Regions from separate parts of the Homo sapiens genome. Here region 1 is linked to region 2. Evidence: promoter capture Hi-C in 16 types of primary human blood cells and fetal thymus (Javierre and others, 2016). All regions are on one chromosome and are shown on one strand. The core of a region is centred on a gene start or on the middle of the fragment in contact, and the rest is flanking DNA. Distances in the headings are between cores, read along the strand shown.

Region 1 (3,595 bases), core at 889-3,388, 50 kb after region 2:
CCAACATGGTGAAACCCCGGCTCTACTAACAATACAAAAATTAGCCAGGCATGGTGGCACACGCCTGTAGTCCCAGCTACTTGGGAAGTTGAGGCAGGAGAATCTCTTGAACCCGGGAGGCGGAGGTTGCACTGAGCTGAGATCGCACCACCGCACTCCACTGCAGCCTGGGCAACGAGCGAAACTCCATCTCAGAAAGAAAAAAAAAAAAAAAAATCTGCCCAGTCACTGCAAGCATTTGCTTGAACTGGATGTAATTTTATATAAGGATCACAGCTTCCCAAATAAGGAAATGGCAAAGGCTGAGTTGCCAGCATTTCTGGGAGTCAATTAAGAAGGTGGTAAGAATACCATCTTTATTTATAACCCTTATGCCCCAGTGACAATAAATGCTTTTTAGAGATGAGTCACTGAATCATAGAAAATAAAATGTGGGACTGTAGGAGGTCTTCCCGTTGAGAAAAACTGTTTCCCAGAACATGGCTCACAAACAATTTAGGGGGAGGTTTAGGCAACCAACAGTAGCCAGGGAAGCAGGGCATCTGGACAGCCTGTTTCCACTGTGTGCAGCAATCTGCTGCCCCGGAGGGGCCTGTCCAGTTCCTCTGCTTTTCATTCCATGCACAGAGCTCATCCACCACAACACAGACCCCTAAGTGGTGGAAAGTCCGTGGAATCTGGGGACAGAAGACCAGAGTTCAAGTTGAAGTCCTGCTTCCTACTCACTGTGTGTTTTAAGGAGGTCCTCAGAACTCCCTGAGTATGAGCAGCCCCATCTCTCAGACACCGTCATGGGTAAGATAGTAAAATAGTGGGCAGGAAAGCACTCTGTAAACAGGAAAGTGCTATTTATGTTTATCCTTTCCTTTTTTTTTTTCTTTTTTTGAGACAGAGTCTCACTCTGTCGCCAGGCTGGAGTGCAGTGGTGCAGTCTCAGCTCACTGCATCCTCTGCCTACTGGGTTCAAGCGGTTGTCGTGTCTCAGACACCCGAGTAGCTGGGATTACAGGCATGTGCCACACATGCCTGGCTATTTTTTTGAATTTTTAGTAGAAATGGAGTCTTACCATGTTGCCCAGGCTGGTCTCAAACTCCTGAGCTCAAGCAATCTGCCTGCCTCAGCCTCCAAAGTGCTGGAATTATAAGCATGAGCCACCACGCCCAGCCAATGTTTTTATTTTCTCAAATTTAGTTTTCTAGGCCATTTCTTTATTTAGAGAAACGGCATGTGTGAGAAGCTGGGACTCTTTCCTCTGTCAGTGACCCAGAAAAAGGAGTCGGACCACAAGAGCTGCCCTTGTGTGTATAGGCTCTCCTGGAAACATGTGGCCCCAGAAGTCATTTGATCCTCAATTTCCCCTTGTCTTATAGGTAGATGGACTTCTCTTCTACCACAAACAGACCCACTACAGCCCCGGAAGCACTCCCTTGGTGGGCTGGCTGCGCCCCTACATGGTGTCAGATGTCCTTGGTGTAGCTGTGCCGGCTGGCCCGCTGACCACCAAGCCAGACTATGCTGGGCACCAGCTCCAGCAGATTATGGAGCACAAGAAGAGCCAGAAGGAAGGCATGAAGGAGAAACTCACACACAAGGCCTCTGAGAATGGGCACTATGAATTGGAGCACCTGTCTACTCCCAAGTTGAAGGGTTCTTCCCATAGCCCAGACCACCCTGGATGCCTCATGGAGAATTAAAGAGAGAAGCCTCCTTAAGGAGCCACAGGATGGTACCTGGCCCCAAAAGGAATCCTGGAGAGGAGGACAGTGACAACAGGTGACTTCATTCTTTAGAGTGAACTTTCCAAACCCAGTCCAGCTGGAAACAGCTTATCTATAATCTGAAATGCTGGCTCAAACAGTTATGGGGAGGTTCCCAGATTGCGTAGCATTCAGATTGATTTGAGCAGCTCCTACTGTGATAAGTGTATCCCAGATCCACAATGTAAATATATGTGATTTGTAAGAAAGAACTGGTTTGTGGTTCTTAAGCTTTAGATAGCCATGAATCTCCCCTTCCCATCTCAGTCCCCTGGGCTACTTCAACCATGGCTGTTCAAGTCTTGGCCCATTTCACTCTTTTTAGTACTCAAAGATTCTGCTGAGTTTCCAGTTGCTGCTGCCGCCGAAAGGTTTTACCAGGAACTGCAATTCTGGGTATTTGAATATGTTCCCTCTTCTGAGAAGACAAGTGTGATTTTCTTTGGTTTAGACATTGCCAGAGATAAAATGCAAATGTAGTTCATTCACTCCTTCAGCAAACATTTGTGCCTACCAGGAGATAAGCTTGTCCTAGGCCCCTGCCAAGTAGAGGGGTTATGGAGGTGGACAGTACTTAGTCCCTGCCCTTGAGGAGCTCACACTCCTGTGAGAAAAGAAGCCCACCAGGACAGTTTGGGAGAAGAGGCTGGAGAGAGATAGCAGGTTTTAGATTTTGTGTCATGGATGAAAGGAGCTAAGAAAGAACTTTGAGCAGGCAAGGTCTCTTGAGATTTGTGAACTGGAGGTCTTTGGCAGCTGTGAGAATGGAAGATTGTGTTGGAAACTGACTAATTAGTTTCTGCTTTGTATTCAGGAAATGGATCCCACTTCCTGTGGCTTCAGTCAGCTCCCATATTGCTTCCCATCTTTCTAGGACTCTGTCATGGATACAAGTACTTCACCATTCCCTCCAGCAGCACTAGTGTCCTGTGGACAGATTTTCACAGGGATCCAGGTCAGCTCTTGTCTGACATGCAGTGGTCCCTGCATGTTGATTAGTTCTGGGAACAGATTTGGGCAGAGGTAGTAGTTATTTGGAGCCTGATTATACAACTTCAGTACATCCAGTGGAACTAGTCTTAGTGTCGGCTCTTAGAGAGTTGCTCAAGCTGACCTTGTAAAATTGGAAGACTCCCCGCTCCCACCCTCATCCATTGATGATCCTGCTGGCTGCAGATTCAAGCATTTGCCTACATCAATAAGCTCTTTCCTGAATTTAGGTCAATTCTGTAATAGGAACATTGTGTTCCTCTTGCCAAGGAGCATGTTTTAAGTGCCTAAACATTTAGTCTCTGTTTGATAATTTTCTGAGTGCTCTAGTCTGTGCTATCAGCAGCCAACCATATCAGTTCAGAAGCTATGCATGCTAGTGTCAATAGTGACTTGGCCATACTCTGTTCAGAAATAATCAGGTCTGGAAGGACTACTTCCCCAAAGGGCGCACACAGGCACTACAGGCACACACACTCTGGGGACAGCTGCATGAATCAAAGGATATATCAGCCAAAATTATCAACAATCACAACTTGATTTTTTTTTTTTTATTTTGGGATAGAGTCTTGCTGTGTTGCCCAGGCTGGAGTGCAGTGGCACAGTCTCGGCTCACTGCAACCTCCGCCTCCCCAGTTCAGACGATTCTCCTGCCTCACCCTCCTGAGTAGCTGGGATTACAGGGGTGAGCCACTGCGCCCAGAGACTATAACAGCTTTCAATGAGGTCTGTGAGTCCTTGTGGCGAATTATATAACCAGAGGGTAGTCTTAGGGTTCCCCAAACTTGCAACTGGTATCCAAAGTAACGGTAGTCTGTGGACTATTCCCTGAGTTTGGGAAATATAT
Region 2 (3,792 bases), core at 287-2,786:
ATCATCATCATCCTCCTCAAAGCTACCCTGGTTTGAGAGGAAGCCACTGCCCCCACCACTCCTAGCTGGGCTGGCCACACTGGGGCTGTTGTACAAGCTCACCTGGGCTCCGGGAGAGCCTGCAGGGCTGCTGGAGTAGTCAGCATGGTTGGTGCTGATGCCAGAACGGACGATCTCCACATAAGAGGCAGGAAAGAGCCCTGTCTCCCCACGGCTGTTCTGGCCCTGCAGCCAGCCATCCAGTGAGGTCTCGCTAAAGATGACCAGGTCCTCATCCTGCTGGATGCTGATTTCCTCCTTGTTCTCACTGTGAAAGTCATAGAGGGCTCGGCCTTTCAGTGCCATGGCTGGGCTGGGTGGTATAGAAAGATGGGAAGGAGAGGGTCCTGCCCAGACCGGGGATGCTCACAAGGCAGTCCAAGAATGCACTCGCAGCTGAATGGCGCTTACACAGTTCAATCTCTCAGGTCCTAAGGTGGGGTCTCAGCACCCACAGATGCTGTCCAGTCTCCCCCTCTTCAAAGCAATGTCCATGGCCCAGAAACTGCCCTATCAGGTCTCCGGGCATATGCTTGTGAGCAGGGAGGGCTCATGTCCACAGTCTCCTCCTCCCTTAGCAGCCTCTGGGGGGTTAGAGGGGAATCTCTCCTAACTCCTACTCCCAGAAGAAAAGTCAAGTGACCTGGAGAAATCTGCCCTGCGAGGGGAAAAATTCGACACTTTCCACTGGAACAACGTTCTAAAATAGAAGAGACTCACTCTGAAACCACCATTCCAGAAACCCGGGCAGGGCTCGGCTGTCCCTCTGGCTCCCAGATTCTTTTGGCGGCTCTCGCTTTGGGAGGCTCTCACATTCCTCTGCAGATCTGCCCCTTCCTCCTTCCTCCTCTTGCTCCTGGGCCACTGGGTTTTCAAAAATCCGGAAAATCCAAGAGGGGCAAGGAGAAAAGCAGCAGCCGCCTGAATCGAGTCCAAGGGTGGATGTGTCCGGCTTCACAACGAGCCAGGCCGGGAAAACAAGGACTGAGGCTTACACAACAGGCCGCCAACTCTTCGACCCCGGCTGCGCAGCCGGAGCCCCCGCCGGCTCGGGCGCCCTCTCCCCGCCCCAGAAGTGGCCAGCCCCAACCCCGGAGGAAGGAGGGGGCGCGACGAGGCTGTCGGGCGACTTCTAGCCACTCGCTGAGTGGTCTCTTTTGTTTGCCTAATTCCTCAGCAGTTTCTGAGCCTGACGCTGACCCTGCTCTGAATCCCAGGAACCCCGTCCAAAGGTAACCCCAGCAGAAACCGGTTCCTCACCCGGGACTTACGACCCCCGATCACCACCCTCGCGTGCACGCACACACTCAACAGTTTGGAGTTTGGAGAGTGAGCTCCGGCGAGCAGATGGCGCGGCCAGCCGTCTGTCCGTCCGTCCTCCTCTCCGCCCTGCGGGGCCCGGCCAGTGGGGGGCGGGCTGCGCCCCCAGCCTGCCTTCCCCGGCGCTCGCAGACCCTCCGCTCCGCCAGCGAGAAGGCAGCTCCAAAACAAAAAGGCGATTCCGGGAGGTGGCGTCCTGAGGAAGGAGGGGATCGCCAAAGGGGAGGTGAGGGGTGGGGAGAGGGAGGAGGGAGGGGGAAGCAGGCTGGAGAATCGGGCAAACTCCGCTGCACTTCCGTGCGTCCCGGCGGGGCAGGGACGGCCAGCTCCGCCCTCCCGCGGGCCCGGGGCGCTGCAGCCGAGCCCCCGCCTACTCCTCCGCGCGGCTTCCCAGCTGGCCAGCGCCCTCGCTCGCTGGCGCTCAGTCCGGGAGGCGAGAGGGAGGAAACGACCCGGGAACGAGGGGGCCCGAGAGCCTCCGGGGCTGGTCCCTGGGACCGCCACCTCCCCTCCTCTCCCTCCGCCTGTCCGCCCTCGCCGGGAGACACCTCACGCCCCCGTGGTTGGAGCGCCCGGCGGGGGAGCTTGCCAGCTGCCGCTGCCTCGCTTCCTGGACTCCGTCATCCTCCTGCCTTTTCCGTGACGCAAATGGAGTAAAACTCCGAAAGTTTGCAAAGCGTGGGGCTGCAAGGAGCACCGCGCCAGAGCCAGGATCGGGAGATCGGGGTGGGGGGAGGGGGGTGCGTGGAAAGCCGCCGCGCCAGCTGGGGTTGGGGAGCAGAGTCGCGGACTCGCCTTCCCACCTTCCCATTCCCCACTCCTGCTCCGCAGGGACGGGTCGTGGCGCAGCTCAGAGATTGTTTTCCGGAGGAACAGAAACGGCCTGCGCGTTCCAGGCGTCTGACCTAAGATACCGAGAGCTGCGGGTGCAGCACCCTAGCCAGACAGGGCGACCCTGCCCTGGGCGACTAGCTTGGAAGGAGGGAAAGACACTACTCTACATCTGCAGCGACAGGGAACAAGTCTAGGTGCCACCCGGTTCCGTGTTGCTTAGTACAGCAGCGGGGACTGGATGTTCTGTGCTAGCCAGCGGCAGCAAGGAGAGAAGTGGTCAGGTAGAGAATCTTCGAGAAGAGGCAAGTGGGATCTGACCCTCGGTCAGCATATCGGGAACACTTTGGGCATTGATTCTGCTAGGCACTGTGCTGGGCACTGGGGAGTAGTACACCACAAGGCAGTCGGGGTTTCTATCCTGGGGGGCTTACAGTCCACCCTCTCTTGTCTTTAATCAATCCATTCTGTCTCAGTCATTCATTCAGCCAAGTCATGCACTCAAGAAACATTAACTGAGTACCTACTCTGCACCAGGCCCCTGAGCTACAAAGACAAATAAGACATTATCCTTATTTTCCAAAAGCTCAGATATGTTGTGACAAGTAGACAAATGCTCCCTGCCCAGTGTGACTAGTTAGTGCCATGAAAAGTGCACATGAGGGTACCTACCCCAGCCTGGGTAGAGCAAGGATCAAGGAAAGCTTCCTGAAGGAGGAAGTGCCTAAGATGAGGCAAAGGCTTCAGGAGGACTCCCTTTCCTGGCTATACCCTGGAGTCTTGTCTACCCTGTCTAGCTAGATCTTCCCTTCATTCTCTCCCTAGTCACTTATTGCAGATTAACTGGTACAAGGTAGTTCTGCTAAAGATGGATACCTTTGGCTGTTTTGAGGGACATGGTTCCCAGACCTCTGGCTCCAAAACCCAGTTTCACTGGTTCAGTGAGTGGATCCGACTCCCTTCGCAGGTCTGGCATTTGACCAGAATAAAGGCCTATGTACAAACCCCAGAAGGCTAGGTATCAATTTGCACAGAGAAATAAAACTGTCAAGCAGAACTGAATTTCTGCATCAATAGATCAAGGCAGTTTGGGCTACCCCTTGGGAAGCCCAGTTACCAGAAAGTTAGCTCAGTGAGTCTGGAACCCCCAAGAGGGGAAAGGGTATGAGGAGTCTCTCAGTCAAGTAACCTTAAAACCTTGCTTCCTGTCATGGGGCAGCCTTCATTCTAAAGACAGTTCGTCCTAGCATCTCTAAGACAGAATATACGTTTTCCCCACGTGCTTTTAGGACCCCCCCCTTCCCTGTGATCTATCTTCTGTCCACATAGCCTTTCTCCAAACTGAGTTTAACAATAGCATCAGGGCTGGGTGCAGTGGCTCACACCTGTAATCCCAGCACTTTGGGAGGCCAAGGCAGGTGGATTACTTGAGCTCAGGAGTTCGAGACCAGCTTGGCCAACATGGCGAAACCCCATCTCTACTAAAAATACAAAAAATTAGCTGGGCGTGATGGCGCATGCCTGTAATCCCAGCTACTCAGGAGGCTGAGGTAGAAGAATTGCTTGAACCCAGGAGGCAGAGGTTGCAGTGAGCCGAGATTG

What was found. Contacts are between HindIII fragments. The CHiCAGO score rates a contact against its expected background, and 5 or more counts as called.
Region 1: a fragment that was not itself captured here is called in contact with the fragment with the promoter of SNX33 in region 2 in 2 of 17 cell types (naive CD4 T cells and megakaryocytes); the score reaches 5.7 in naive CD4 T cells.

The regions. Positions count from the first base shown.
Region 1 is chr15:75,596,458-75,600,052 of GRCh38, reverse strand. It overlaps SNUPN (snurportin 1), which reads left to right. Exons shown (of 9, transcript NM_005701.4): 9 at 1,372-1,967. The coding sequence ends at 1,695. Among named protein-coding and RNA genes, the nearest start is that of PTPN9, 19 kb to the right of the region's middle. The HindIII fragment of the contact is 294 bases long and covers 1,992-2,285 here.
Region 2 is chr15:75,645,656-75,649,447 of GRCh38, reverse strand. It overlaps SNX33 (sorting nexin 33), which reads right to left and starts at 1,536. Exons shown (of 2, transcript NM_153271.2): 1 at 1-1,536. The coding sequence starts at 345. RefSeq lists an enhancer at 1,061-1,752 and a silencer at 1,378-1,917. The HindIII fragment of the contact is 30,102 bases long and covers 1-2,896 here.